2 separate regions of the Homo sapiens genome follow, and region 1 is linked to region 2. The links are contacts of gene promoters, found by promoter capture Hi-C in blood cells and fetal thymus (Javierre and others, 2016). All regions are on one chromosome and are shown on one strand. The core of a region is centred on a gene start or on the middle of the fragment in contact, and the rest is flanking DNA. Distances in the headings are between cores, read along the strand shown. Region 1 overlaps PKHD1L1 (PKHD1 like 1). Region 2 holds the start of PKHD1L1 (PKHD1 like 1).

Region 1 (6,414 bases), core at 1,096-3,595, 46 kb before region 2:
CAATTTTCTTCCTTTACTCTATATTAAAGAAAATATCTCATTAAGAAATAAATAATGACTGGGCCGTGTACTAATTAACCAGAGTGTTATGTCGAGAAGCAATTATATAAAACTACATAATACATAAAAACATATAATGCCCCACCATAAATTATAATCTCTGAAGTCAATGAGGAGAAAGGATATACTGTGCATCCAAGCTAAGAAAACAAAAACCAAGGCCGGGTGCGGTGGCTCAAGTCTGTAATCCCAGCACTTTGGGAGGCCAAGACGTGCGGATCACGAGGTCAAGAGATCGAGACCATCCTGGCCAACATTGTGAAACCCCGTCTCTACTAAAAATACAAAAATTAGCCAGGCATGGTGGCGCAAGCCTGTAGTCCAAGCTACTCGGGAGACTGAGGCAGGAAAATTGCTTGAACTTGGGAGGTGGAGGTTGCAGTGAGCCAAGATCGTGCCACTGCACTCCAGCCTGGAGACAGAGTGAGACTCCGTCTCAAAAAAAAAAAAAAAAAAAAAGAAAAAGAAAAGAAAAGAAAAAAGAAAATACCAACAAAATTACATGATTTTGGATCTGCGTCCCCACCAAATCGCATGTTGAATTGTAATCCCCAAAGTGTGAGGTAGGGCCTGTTGGTAGGTGATTTGATCACGGGGGTGGATTTCTCATGAATGGCTTAGCACCATCCCATCGGTGCTGTTCTCATGATAGTGAGTGAGTTTTCACAAGGTCTGGTTGTTTAAAAGTGGGTGGCACCGCCCCACTCTCTTCTCTTGCTCTTCACCAAGCCAAGTGACGTGCCTGTTCCCCCTTTGCCTTCACCATGATTGAGAGTTTCCCAAGGCCTTCCAAGATGTCGAGCAGATGCCAGCATCATGCTTCCTGTACAGCCTACAGAACTGTGAGCCAATTAAACCTCTTTTCTTTCTAAATTACCCAGTCTAAGGTATTTCTTTATAGCAACGCAACAATGGCCTATACACAAAATAAACAAAAACACTGCAAATCTTACCTTTGATCAGCTTTCCTACTTTCTAGCAAGAAAATTCATGAGTAGTAAAAATTTTTTAACAAACGAATCATAGACGGCAGTACCAATAGCACCTACCAACAGCCCTTACAACAAATGTATAACAAAGTCATTTTTGCAATTTGACTGTGAATAACAAAGTTATTAATGCTACTTCAGAAGAGAAATTATAAAATTTAAAACCATTATATAAATTCTTATTAGGTCAGTTTCACAGTTCATTAAATATTTCATACCAGATTAAAATCAGTTTCATAGTCTCTGAAATATTTCACAACAAATCCTTCTTCAAAATTTGCAATTTGTGGTGGACACTTAGTGCTAACCATTTCTTCCACTGCTCCCTGAAACTAAATTAACAATATAAACATTAGTAACTTCTTTTCATGAAAAGTTAGAACACTCGTAATCCTACTACTGATTCTACTAATTAGTTTTAATAGGACATTTTCATAATTCCCATATTTTAGTCATGATTATGAGTTAATTTTCTAAATAATTTTAAGTTAGTGTGATAATTTTAGTGTCTAATGAGTTTTCAAGACTTTTATTCTAGAATAACAATAGTTACATACAATTGGCTAATAATAGCATACTTAGTTATAAGGCAGACATATTTGTTTAGTACCTTTTTAAAGAGAGCAATGAAGCAAACCTAAATTAATTAGTACCCAATTAGATAGATTCCAAATAAATACTTTTTCCAAATAACTCAAAATTAACTGGAAAAAAAAAACTATACACGCCAATGGATTCTGGCCAACATGGTGAAACCCTGTCTCTTTTAAAAATATAAAAATTAGCTGGGCATGTGGCAAGCGCCTGTAGTCCCAGCTACTCAGGAGGCTGAGGCAGGAGAATCGCTTGAACCCAGGAGGTGGAGGGTTGCAGTGAGTGGAGATCACACCACTGCATTCCAGCCTGGTGACAGAGTGAGACTCCGTCTTGAAAAAAAAAAAGGTTACATGCATATACTGTAAGCTTGTATTTATAATTATTCAAAAAATAATAAATTATTGCAGATTATGCAGAAATTAGTACATATTCACAAGTCTCCTAAAATTTCCATATCATTTTCTCCAGCAAAGCACAGAAATAATTGTCGCTTAGAATTAAGGGCTTGAGACAATATATACTCTTTAATCTGCAAACAGATTTTAACTTAAATTCATTGTCCAGATAGTTGTCAAAATGTTGTAACTCACAAGCATTCTTTCTTTATGAATGGCTGCCCCCTATGGAGATACATTAGGCCCTGTTGGCACAGACCTAAGATCTTCCCTTTCCTTCTCTTGTCTTTGGAATATTTCCTCCCTTCTCTCCTCACTACGGGTAGGCTCCAACCTATCACGCCAAATGGAAGAATGTATTACTCCTCCTTAAAGTGTTCTTTATAAAAGGTTGACATTTAAATGGTGTTCTGTTTAAACGTCTCTCCTCTTTGAAAGGATGCTCCACTAGTGGAATCTCATTGATCTTTTTGACCCTTTTTGTTGGGTAAAGTCTTAAAATTTGCTGAGTTAGGATTTGGGTACCATATTTCTTAAGGTCTCTGCTGAAGCCTTAAAATTTCTCTCTGATGTATAAAAATACATCAATAAAATAATAGGATATTTAAACTAACCAATACTTTATAGCTAAGCTTTTATTGCACTACATCTCTCAAGGAATTTCTGATTTTACAGGATAACAAATTGGATGTTGAGTGAAGAACAACTCCAGTGTGCATAGAGGGACTCAAAGCTTCTACACATAGGCAGGGCAAGGCTTTGGAACCTTTGAGATATGCCTTGTCTGGAAAAAGAGGTGGCTGCACTAGGTTGACTCTTAGTCTCCTTTCAGATAAAAGTATCACAGTATATAAATTGTGGTGAGTTGATCAGGTGATAAATAATTTGCAGTGATTTTTTTTGAAGTAACATCTCTTTCCCATCTGTCTACAAATGGCCCATGAATGATGTGAGAGGGTGCAGGGAAAATGCGTGGTAGAAACATTCCTACACCGTACTTCAGCTTCTGATGACCATAGAGTGAGTGGCTTAGAAGCGATCCCATCCCAATTCAGTGTGAATGTCTCCAAGTTGGGTTTTCCTTTGGTTTGTTCTGTAATATCCAGTGTGACATTATTCCCTTCAACTACTTCATAACCAAGCAGATCAAAGTCTCCTGAAATTAAGTGACAAACAGAATTTGTAGACATTAACTAATAAAATGCCTATATATAAAACTATATATTTTATATATATTTAATAGACACTCAAATGTAGCCAAATTGGTTTCATTTGGTGCTCCATTATCAGAAAAGAAGGAAGAATGGGGGCGATGTAGATCCTTAAAATTTGAGCAGATTTATCCATAGCATAAATAGCAAAGCAGACAAAGTGCTATATATTTAAGGTGCTGTTTCTATAGCTTAAAAGGAAGTATTGTAAGATAGACAGATGTATTAGGACCATGAATAAAGATCAATGAGTAGTAGGATATTCCAAAAATTCTTTTAGTTTTGTGCTAGTACCATTATTTTAGTGCAAATGCTCAGCTGGAATATTTCTATTTTCTTTAGACATGAATAGGGCACAAAGCTGAATTCCAGGAAACAATCTCTGATCTGTGAGGTTTGTTCATACCATGCCACTTAGTATGATAATCATTGGCTTTGCCACTTTGAGAGGAATAAGGCCTGTCCTCAAATGTCTCTCTTCTTTGAAAGGATGCTCTACCAGTGGAATCTCATTGATCTTTTTGACCCTTTTTGTTGGGTAAAGTCTTAAAATTTGCCCAGTTAGGATTTGGGCACCATATTTCTTAAGGTTTCTGCTGAAGCCTTAAAATTTCTCTCTGATGTATAAAAATACATCAAAAAGGATATCCATATGTTTATTCATAAGTATTTTGACAATCTAACTTTTGTACACTTTTTAAAACTTAAATTCATGTAAAATCAAATTCTTTATCCTCCACTCAACAATCAAATAAACAATTACATAAAGTGAGACATAAATATTGAAGTAACATTTTACTTACATATTGAAAAACAATGATTGCCCAAAGAAAAGTAAACACACACACATTCAGGGACCTACTTTCTGAGCTAAATATACCAAAAAGCCAAATTAGTTGCGAAGTCTGACTTGAAGGCAGAATGTCTATGTCAATATTTCCAAAAGTGTTTTGTGTAAAACATTAATAGGCGGTTAATAGCTATTACTTGAAAAAAGATGGAAATATAAAATACGTTTGCATTAAACACAGGTAAATTGATTTTTTTCTTTTTCCTTTTTTTTTTAATACTGCAGGACTCCTCAGGGATTTTAATATTCCAATGAGCTCTGTCAATCTTCAAGGAAGACCCATGGTATACAGTGTCTCCCATGTGAATTTGACCTCAAAATCCTTTCAGTAGGCAAGATTTGACCAGATGAGTGTCTCCTGGACAATAGTGATTTGCCTAAATTTTATTTTCAGAATGAATATTTTCACTAGTTTTTACTAATTTATAAAGTAGGCTATTATATGGAAAACGCATTTGTAGTATGTATAGTGCATTTCTCATGCATTAGAGTTGTACATTCCTTGAAATACAACTAAAATTTAAATTACCGTAGAAAAAACCATTTAATTTCTGCTTCTCCTAAGATTAACCAAGTCTTTTTCTCTGTCATCTTATGGAACTTTTAGAGTGGCACAGGATATACATTTGTTTCCTACAGAAGTACAAAATTAAGTACATGCTTACCTCTAGTTGATATGAATGTTACCATGTAGACATAGCTCTGGGGATTTTGTGTTCTTATTACTTGAACTGTGTCCGGTTTTATAGACCAGAGGTCATTCAAGGCTGATTGCAGTATGAATTCAGAAGCATCAGCAGGTAGGAAGACTTTGATTGGATTAAAACAAACAAACAAACAAACAGAAAAGTTGAAATCTTTCTGAGCTACTGCAGCCAACACTGATGTCTCGTATTTATATTTTTAAAGCACCTATACTCTGTACCATGTAAGTTATCACTTAGAGAAATTGTATTTTGAAACTGATTCAAGTTCAGTAATATTGACTATTTAATTAATTTGTGATCTCTTTGAGGACAGGGCTGATATTTTATTGTTTTAATATTCCCACAGTAATAATCATTGGATTTGGCAAAGAATAAGCAATCATCAATATTTACTGGTTAAAACAATTAACAGTAGTAGCAAAAGTTGTATTTTAGGATTTATTGTAAAATATAGAAATGCAATGTTGTTTATTGGCTGATAAATTGGTGTTCCATAGGCCTATCATTTAATTTAAAAAATTGAAAGACATGTTTACTTCTGTGCAATGATGAATTTAATTCCTTTTAAATTTTTTATTTTTATTGTAAGTTCTGGGGTACATGTGCAGGATGTGCATGTTTGTTACATAGGTAAACGTATGTCATGGTGGTTTGCTGCACCTATCAACCCATCATCACCTAGGTATTAAGCCCAGTATGCATTAGCTATTTTTCCTAACCTAATGCCCTCCCCGTGCCGACCCCACCCCCCAACAGGCCCCAGTGTGTGTTGTTCCCCTCCCTGTGTCCATGTGTTCTCATTGTTCAGCTCCCACTTATAAGTGAGAACATGCAGTGTTTGGTTTTCTGTTCCTGAGTTAGTTTGTTGAGGAAGTGGCTTTAAGCTCCATCCATGTCCCTGAAAAGGACATGATCTCATCCCTTTTTATGGCTGCATAGTATTCTATGGTGTACCACATTTTCTTTATCCAGTCTATCATTGACGGGCATTTGGGTTGACTATTCACAATTCCTATTTTCTTAACTTACACCTATGAGTAGCAAATATATAAATTCCATGTGCATTTAGATATATATTTATCATTATTATTAGAAAATGATGGTATATGCCACAAAGTTATTTGTATGGATGTCATTTTCTATCCCAGTCTGAAGGCTTTTTTCCATAATACATTTTTCTGCTTCTTTGTCTAGCATATCATCAAAACTATATTTTCCAGACAGTGTAATTTGACTACAGCAAATACTTTATGACTACATCTATACATGAACAGAAACAGTATCTCCCTTATTATTTATAACTTACCAGTTTTTTCCATATTATAGATTAATCTATATTGGTAAAGTGAACATGAATTAGCTTCCACACATGGGCTGGTTACCTTGATCTTCTGAACCTCATTAATTGCATTAGTTGTTTCCCAGTTTTCCAATGTTATAACCTATTTTCCAATTAAGAAACATTTTTAATATATGAAAAATATATATATCTTAAAAGCATCATAATTCAGCTATTCAATGCCACTTTATTGCTCTATTTTACTACAAATGACAAGTAACAGCCTTTTTGGCTTATCGTACAAATACTCAAAGTCATAATTTAAT
Region 2 (6,551 bases), core at 1,536-4,035:
GGTCTTATGGCTGAAAGAAACACATATTTCTATTTAAACCTAGGAAAAGCTGTGCATTAAATATATTTACTGATTGCCTTCTACATTTCATCCTAAGACCAGGCAAGGAGAAGGGGAACCATGTACGGTACTCATGCCTTTATGAAGCCTGAGGTTGGGTGGCAGGAGAAGGAATCTAAAGTTTTGTTTTCTATTGCCTTTCCTCTTTCATTAACATATTATTTCTCTATTATACTTTCTTATCAACATTCTACCCAACACCCACAAAATGTTTTATTTGATCTTAAAATAAATTAAATGTTATTAGACTCATGAAGAATAAAGCAAATAATTGCTGAGTTGGGTTAATTGCATTCCTTTTAGTTCAGTCATTAATCCAGATCTTGATGTTAAGCAAGTCAGTATAATAAGAATTCAGATGATCAGGTTGATAAAGACTCTTGGGGATTTCACTAGCTATCAAAGAGGACAGAGTTTTACTATTCTGGCCAAGTGAAGAAATAACTCCAGTGGTGCTTGTTTGTTTGTTTGTCCATAAAGCTCTAAATATGAAATAGGCTTGAAAATACCTCAACCTTGGCAAAAAAAAAAAAAAAAAAGCAACGATACCTTCCCCTCTTATAGTCAGCCTTGTTGCTCCATTTATACTGCCATATTTAGGTATTATTTCTGTGACTTTGGGGATTATTTGAGAGCCATCTGAAAAATATTAAAATACAGTAGAGGTAAAAATCACCAAGTTCTTCATTTCAGTCATCAAAATTTGTAACACATACCACAAGGTTGCAAGGAAAACATTATGAAGTTTACAGGATTGAAAGTAAAATTCACCCAGGTTTTATTTTTGGCTCTGCCAATGACTTGACAGAGTCATTAACTTAGTTAATACCCACTGGCTTTGTGCAAAGCACTATCTTAGGTGCTACCAAGAGCAAAAATAACACGTGATCATTTTCATCACTTACCTATCATATTATAAAACACGTATTAAATCCTTAATTTCATGTAGTGCTCTGCTAACTGCAGATCTATAACTATGCTTAACAGCTCACCTAACAGCAGACACCAAGAAGAAATAGGTCATTATAAGAGCACAGAAGAAATGCAATGCTAGGTAGTTTGAAAGACTAGACCAGGTACAAAGAGAAATGTTGGTTTTGAGAAGAAATTATTTTCTGTGAGGGAGTGTGGCTTCAGGAAAGATAATTTCTGAGATTCTTCTAGCCTCCTGATGATAGTGAGTTCTTAATATAAAGGTCACTAATTCATTCAACAAACTGTGTTAGCTTCCTGGAGATACATAAATGTGTAACAGTCCTAACTTTCCAAAGGCTTAGGTTAGACAGTACCAAGAGACAGAGGAGAGCATAGAGGCCACGGGTGCCTCAAGGAGCATTTCACCCACGCTGCTTGTGTCACACTGGCTTCTATAAAGAAGACATGCCCCTTCCACATTTTTAAGGACAAATATGAATTAGACTGGACCAGTTGTCAGAAAGATAAAGATAGTTCTAGATAGAGGGAACTGCCCGGGCAAACAGGATTGTGTGAGCTGCTTCTTTGGAGTATTGCAAATAATTCTTTAAAACAACTCAAAGCTACACAGTGGATAGAGGTGTTTATTTTCTGCTTACACTGTACAGATCTAGTAATTGCTGGAATCCTAAAAGAAATTTTCACAGTAGGTAGAAAAATTTAAGGGATGATACAAAGAAAGGCCACAGAAATTATTAATTTCTCAAAATGGATGTATATAAAAAGGCTAAGGGAATTATGATTGGCTTGTTCAGTTCTGTCTTAAAAAGGTTTAGAGTGGACTTCACCTATAGTAGCAAAAGCTCTCCAACATAAAGGAGACCAGTTCCGAGGCCCCAGACCCAGTGCCTCTGTACCTCGGGTCTGTCTTTGCCAAGAGCTCCAAGGTGTTCTTATTCCCGCACATTCATATCTCAGGGCAGCCCAAGAGTAGGAAACTCCAGCGGGGAAGCTGGATCCTATCTCCAGACAGTGCTGCTCCTCGCCTATCTCAGGTTCATCCTCCTGTTATCTCCACAGACAACTCCAATTTCTTATCTTATCAGTCTCTTCCCAGCCCTCTTCTGGGTATTACTTTGAAAACACAGGGCAGCTGCCCCTGGAAATGACTGACACCTGCCACGAAGTCCCATCCCCGTCCTACTGGGGGTTGTTGCCCTTTCTGTTGTGAGGAAAGCGACCCAAGAAGAATGGAGGAAAAGGGACTCAGGTTGCCTCTTCCCAGTCCCCACTCCCCCGCCAAATTTCAGTCTACTTGTGTCACTTTGTGGGTGCCGGTGGGAGATTTCATCATTCAAGTAGCAGCATTGATGAGTTAAAAGGCAATCTCTCGCAATCTCTTTCTCTGTGTCCTTGTCTCTGTTTCTCTCTCTCTGCGTCTGTCTCTGTTTGCTAGGCCTGCTATCCAGCTCCCCTGGTCCCCAGGATCGTCATGCAACCGCACCCACAGCCTCAGCCAGGTGCCAGGTGGTCCTGCCTCTCCCAGGACCCCGGGAGCAGGGGTAGTGTCTACGCGGGCCTCTCCTGCTTGCCTGCCTAGCGTGCCCAAAGGGTTACCTGTGCTGGGATCCGCGGCACACAGGAGCAGCCCACAGAGGCCCCAAATACCCAGGAGCCACAGGTGTCCCATTGAAAAGCCAGTTCTGCGGAGTTGGTGCCCTCCGCTCGCAGCTGGCTCTAGTGCTGGAGCTCGGCTCCTGGGACTGCGACTCGCTGGCGGGCCCGCTTCGTCCCGGGAGAGCTGGGGAACTGGGCCGCCCTCCCGTGGCCTGCCCCGCCCCTGCTGTCGGGCTGCTCCTCTGGGATTTGCATGCGCGCGCGGACACACACACACACACACACCCTGGAACCTTCGCGGGAGAACCAAGCCGGCCCCGAGCCAGTCCGTGATAATCAAACCTCCACACTCAAACCTGGGTGCTGCCTTCCCAAGGCTGTCCCCATAGGTGGAAGGGCCTTACTCCTTTTGGCGAAAGGAATCAATGGTCATTGAGGTCTCCCTAGGTCTCCTTCTCTATTTTCTTTTTGTTTTTTTTCTTTTCTTTTCTTTTCTCTCTTTCCCCGCGTACTTTCATCTGCCTGTCTGCCTTGGTCATTAATCCTCCCCAGGTGGGCCTATAAGACCACCTAATACACAAACCCCACGCGTGTTTACCCCTTCACATTCATATGAGATTGTGCTCTCTCTTTAATTGACAATCAGTAGACTTAGGGCGAAGGCTTACTGTTGGCATGGAGGGAGGTCCAGCACTGCTGACCTGTTTCTGGGATGCCAGATAGCAGACGAATGAAACGCAAGTTTCTCTGACCTCCCTGGAGAAGGCAGTTTATTATTCACCACTGAATGCTCCCCAGGGGCTAATTCCAAATCCTCTCACTGTTCTTAATATCTTAACCTCAGGATCTCTTGATTGCCCACCTCTCCCTACTCTTTAAAAGGTGAGAAGGGGCTGGGCACAGCGGCTCACGCCTGTAATTCCACCACTTTGGGAGGCCGAGGTGGGCGGATCGCTTGAGGTCAAGAGTTCGAGACCAGACTGGCTGACATGGTGAAACACCATCTCTACTAAAAATACAAAAATTAGCCTGGTGGGGTGGCGCATGCCTTGTAATCCTAGCTACTTGGGATGCTGAGGCAGGAGAATTGCTTGAAGCCGGGAGGCGGAGGTTGCAGTGAGCTGAGATCACACCCCTGCACTCCAACCTGGGCGACATAGTGAGACTCCGTCTCAAAAACAAACAACAAAAAAAGATGAGAAGATCCACCTACCTAGTTTGCAGTTTCTACATTTTAAAATGTTATGTGTTTTTAAAAGATATTAAAAGATTATTACCCAAATAGCAATGCATAAGCTTCTATTGGATCCTGGTTTGTAAAAAATAATAATAATAATATAAAGCTATGAAGGACGTTTGCAGAACAAATTAGGGAAAGTGAATATGGATTAAGTAACAAGTATTGAAAGATATTATAGAAGCGTTCATTTTATTAGGTATAATAGTGGTATCATACTTTAGTCAAAGAGTGTTTTCAAGTGATGGAATTGCATGATGAGGTATTTGGGGTCATAGTGTCTTTATGTCTGGAATTTACTTCAAAATGGTTTTGCTGAAAAAAAATCTGGCAAATTTTAAACAATGTTTGAATTTAAGTGTAGGTATGATCCTTTGCACTTTTTTATTAGTTTAAAAATTTTTATAAGTAGAAAATTTTAAATTCTCTTTCTTTCATTCCCTCCCTTCCTTCCTTCCTTCCCTCCTTCCTTTCCTTTTGTTCCTCTCTTTCGGGAAGAAGTATTTTTCTTCCATGACATGGTCAATCCCCTCTTTGAACTCTTTGTGAAAACTCTTCTCTTCCCATCTTACTGATTATTATTCTAACAATATCCCCCTTATCTCACTTCTAATTACTTCACTTTCCCCTTTCTCCTCTTTTCCTAGAAAGATATACAGTATTCATTACTAAAAAACTAAACACAAACCAAAAATCCTTTCTTTTCTTCTTAATTGAGGCAAACTCTCTAGTTTACTTGTTATTAAACTTCTTGAAAGAGTTGCCTGTTTTAGTAAACTCCTTGTTCAAGGTCACTGTCCACCTACTCATTCATCTATCATACAAGGCCATCTGTGTTCCAGGGTCTGTTCTAAGTACTTGCTGGGGGATGGAGGAAAGGTAGAGGTTGGGAGTAAGGTTGACAGATAAAATACAGGCCACCCAGGTAAATTTGAAATTAAAATAAGCAACAAATTATTTTTTCCAGTTTTAAGTATTTCCAAGCAAGATTTAGAACATACATATGCTAAAAATTGTTCAGAGTTTATCTGAAATCCAAATTTAACTCAGCTTTCCATAATTTTATTTACTAAATCTGACAACTCTAGTTGGGAAAGAAGAGAGAAGAAATAGAAGAAAGAATCCTAAAATAAGTGAAGTTAGGCCCTTATTCTTGAGGAGTTTATATCTGTCTAGTGGGGTTAAGAAAATAATTTTCAGTCTGGGCAACAAGGCGAGACCCCCATCTCTATAAAAAATTTAAAAAGTAAATAATTTTTAAAAATTAGTCATGCATGGTGGTGCATTCCTGTAGTCCCAGAAACTCAAGAGGCTGAGGTGAGCAGATCACTTGAGTCCCAGAGGTCGAAGCTGCACTGAGCCATGATGGCGCCACTGCACTTCAGCTTGGGAGACAGAGACTGACTTTGTGTCCAAAAAAGAAAGAAAGAAAAAAAGAACTGAAAAAGAAAAGTAAATAATTTTGCTATCTAGTTATATTCATCTCATAAATTTTTGGAATCCCTCTCCATGTCATCAGCTACTGAAAATTGTGCCTATAAAGGTAAAGTATGTAACAGTATATACTTCGCCACGGTAACAGTCCACGGCCTGGGGGTTGGGAATCCTTACCATATTATAAACTGAAGTTGTAATTTTTAATGAGAAACCATTAAATTAGGCAGACTTCCCTGCAGATACAATTCATATAATTTATAACAAAGAGGAAAACTTTCTTAAGTATTGAGTGTATCAATAAAGTGCTTCAAATTTTTTATGTTGACTTCTGTTTTGCCAAACTTTTAAAAGATTTTTTTCACCAAATTTTTAGATAGTATATCAACCAGCAAATGGCATGCAACATCCAAAATATAATTTGGTTACTTCTATTGTGTCCTATTTTATTTTTCTACTTAACACATACTAATTGCATGGTTTATTATACTAGTTTCTTTCAGATAGCTTCACTTTCTTTCACACTTAGTCTTCTTAGAATAAGTAAAATATATATAAAGTATGTATTAGGTATACATATTATATACGTACATATGTATTCAATATTATACATATATATAATGTTTTTCTGTATGTATCACCATTAGTCACTCACATTAAACAATCATATTAAAGCTAGTAAATACTATTAAACTACAGTCATCTAAGTTGGCAAATTTAGCACATTAGTCATTCAGCAAAATGATCATTGGACCAATTAGCTTCAGGAAAGTTGATTTCTGGTAAATTAGCCTTCTTTCTTGTCTTATAATGCCTAAAAAAAAAGCCCCATAATTTGCATATATAAATTTTTAATAAATTTTTGTGGAATGAATGAGCATCTTTAACTGATTTTTCCCTTTAAGTAGTGCTTATTTATATGATAAATAAATGTCCTAAAAAAGATCACACCAGTGAGAATTTTGGTCTTCAATTATTAAAATAATTGGATGGGATAATGTCCCAATAAATAATTGTAACTAGATGGAGATTCATATAACCAAAATGTCAACTTGGATCCAGAAAAAGCAGTTATGTAGTTGATGTAATTTATGATTTAATTTGTGTTCATTTTTACAATCTTCAAACCTTTGCAACATAGATTCATCATGGACATGAGAAAACATGAAAGTAGAATCCTGATCATTAAAGCCCGCGTTTCTTTTGCAGGTTTTCAAAAATCTAGCTCTAACAAAACCCTGCCTAAAGGGCCAGGATAGTGAGTGTGACCTGTGCAATCTCATAGGGC

What was found. The method cuts DNA at HindIII sites, captures the fragments that hold promoters and counts their contacts. A CHiCAGO score of 5 or more calls a contact.
Region 1: a contact is called between a fragment that was not itself captured here and the fragment with the promoter of PKHD1L1 in region 2, in 1 of 17 cell types (megakaryocytes). The highest score is 5.9, in megakaryocytes.

The regions. Positions count from the first base shown.
Region 1 is chr8:109,404,832-109,411,245 of GRCh38, reverse strand. It overlaps PKHD1L1 (PKHD1 like 1), which reads right to left. Exons shown (of 78, transcript NM_177531.6): 16 at 6,116-6,251; 17 at 4,768-4,911; 18 at 3,040-3,197; 19 at 1,268-1,381. Among named protein-coding and RNA genes, the nearest start is that of PKHD1L1, 46 kb to the right of the region's middle. The HindIII fragment of the contact is 661 bases long and covers 2,015-2,675 here.
Region 2 is chr8:109,358,695-109,365,245 of GRCh38, reverse strand. It overlaps PKHD1L1 (PKHD1 like 1), which reads right to left and starts at 2,785. Exons shown (of 78, transcript NM_177531.6): 1 at 2,593-2,785; 2 at 610-699. The coding sequence starts at 2,665. The HindIII fragment of the contact is 8,587 bases long and covers 1-3,890 here.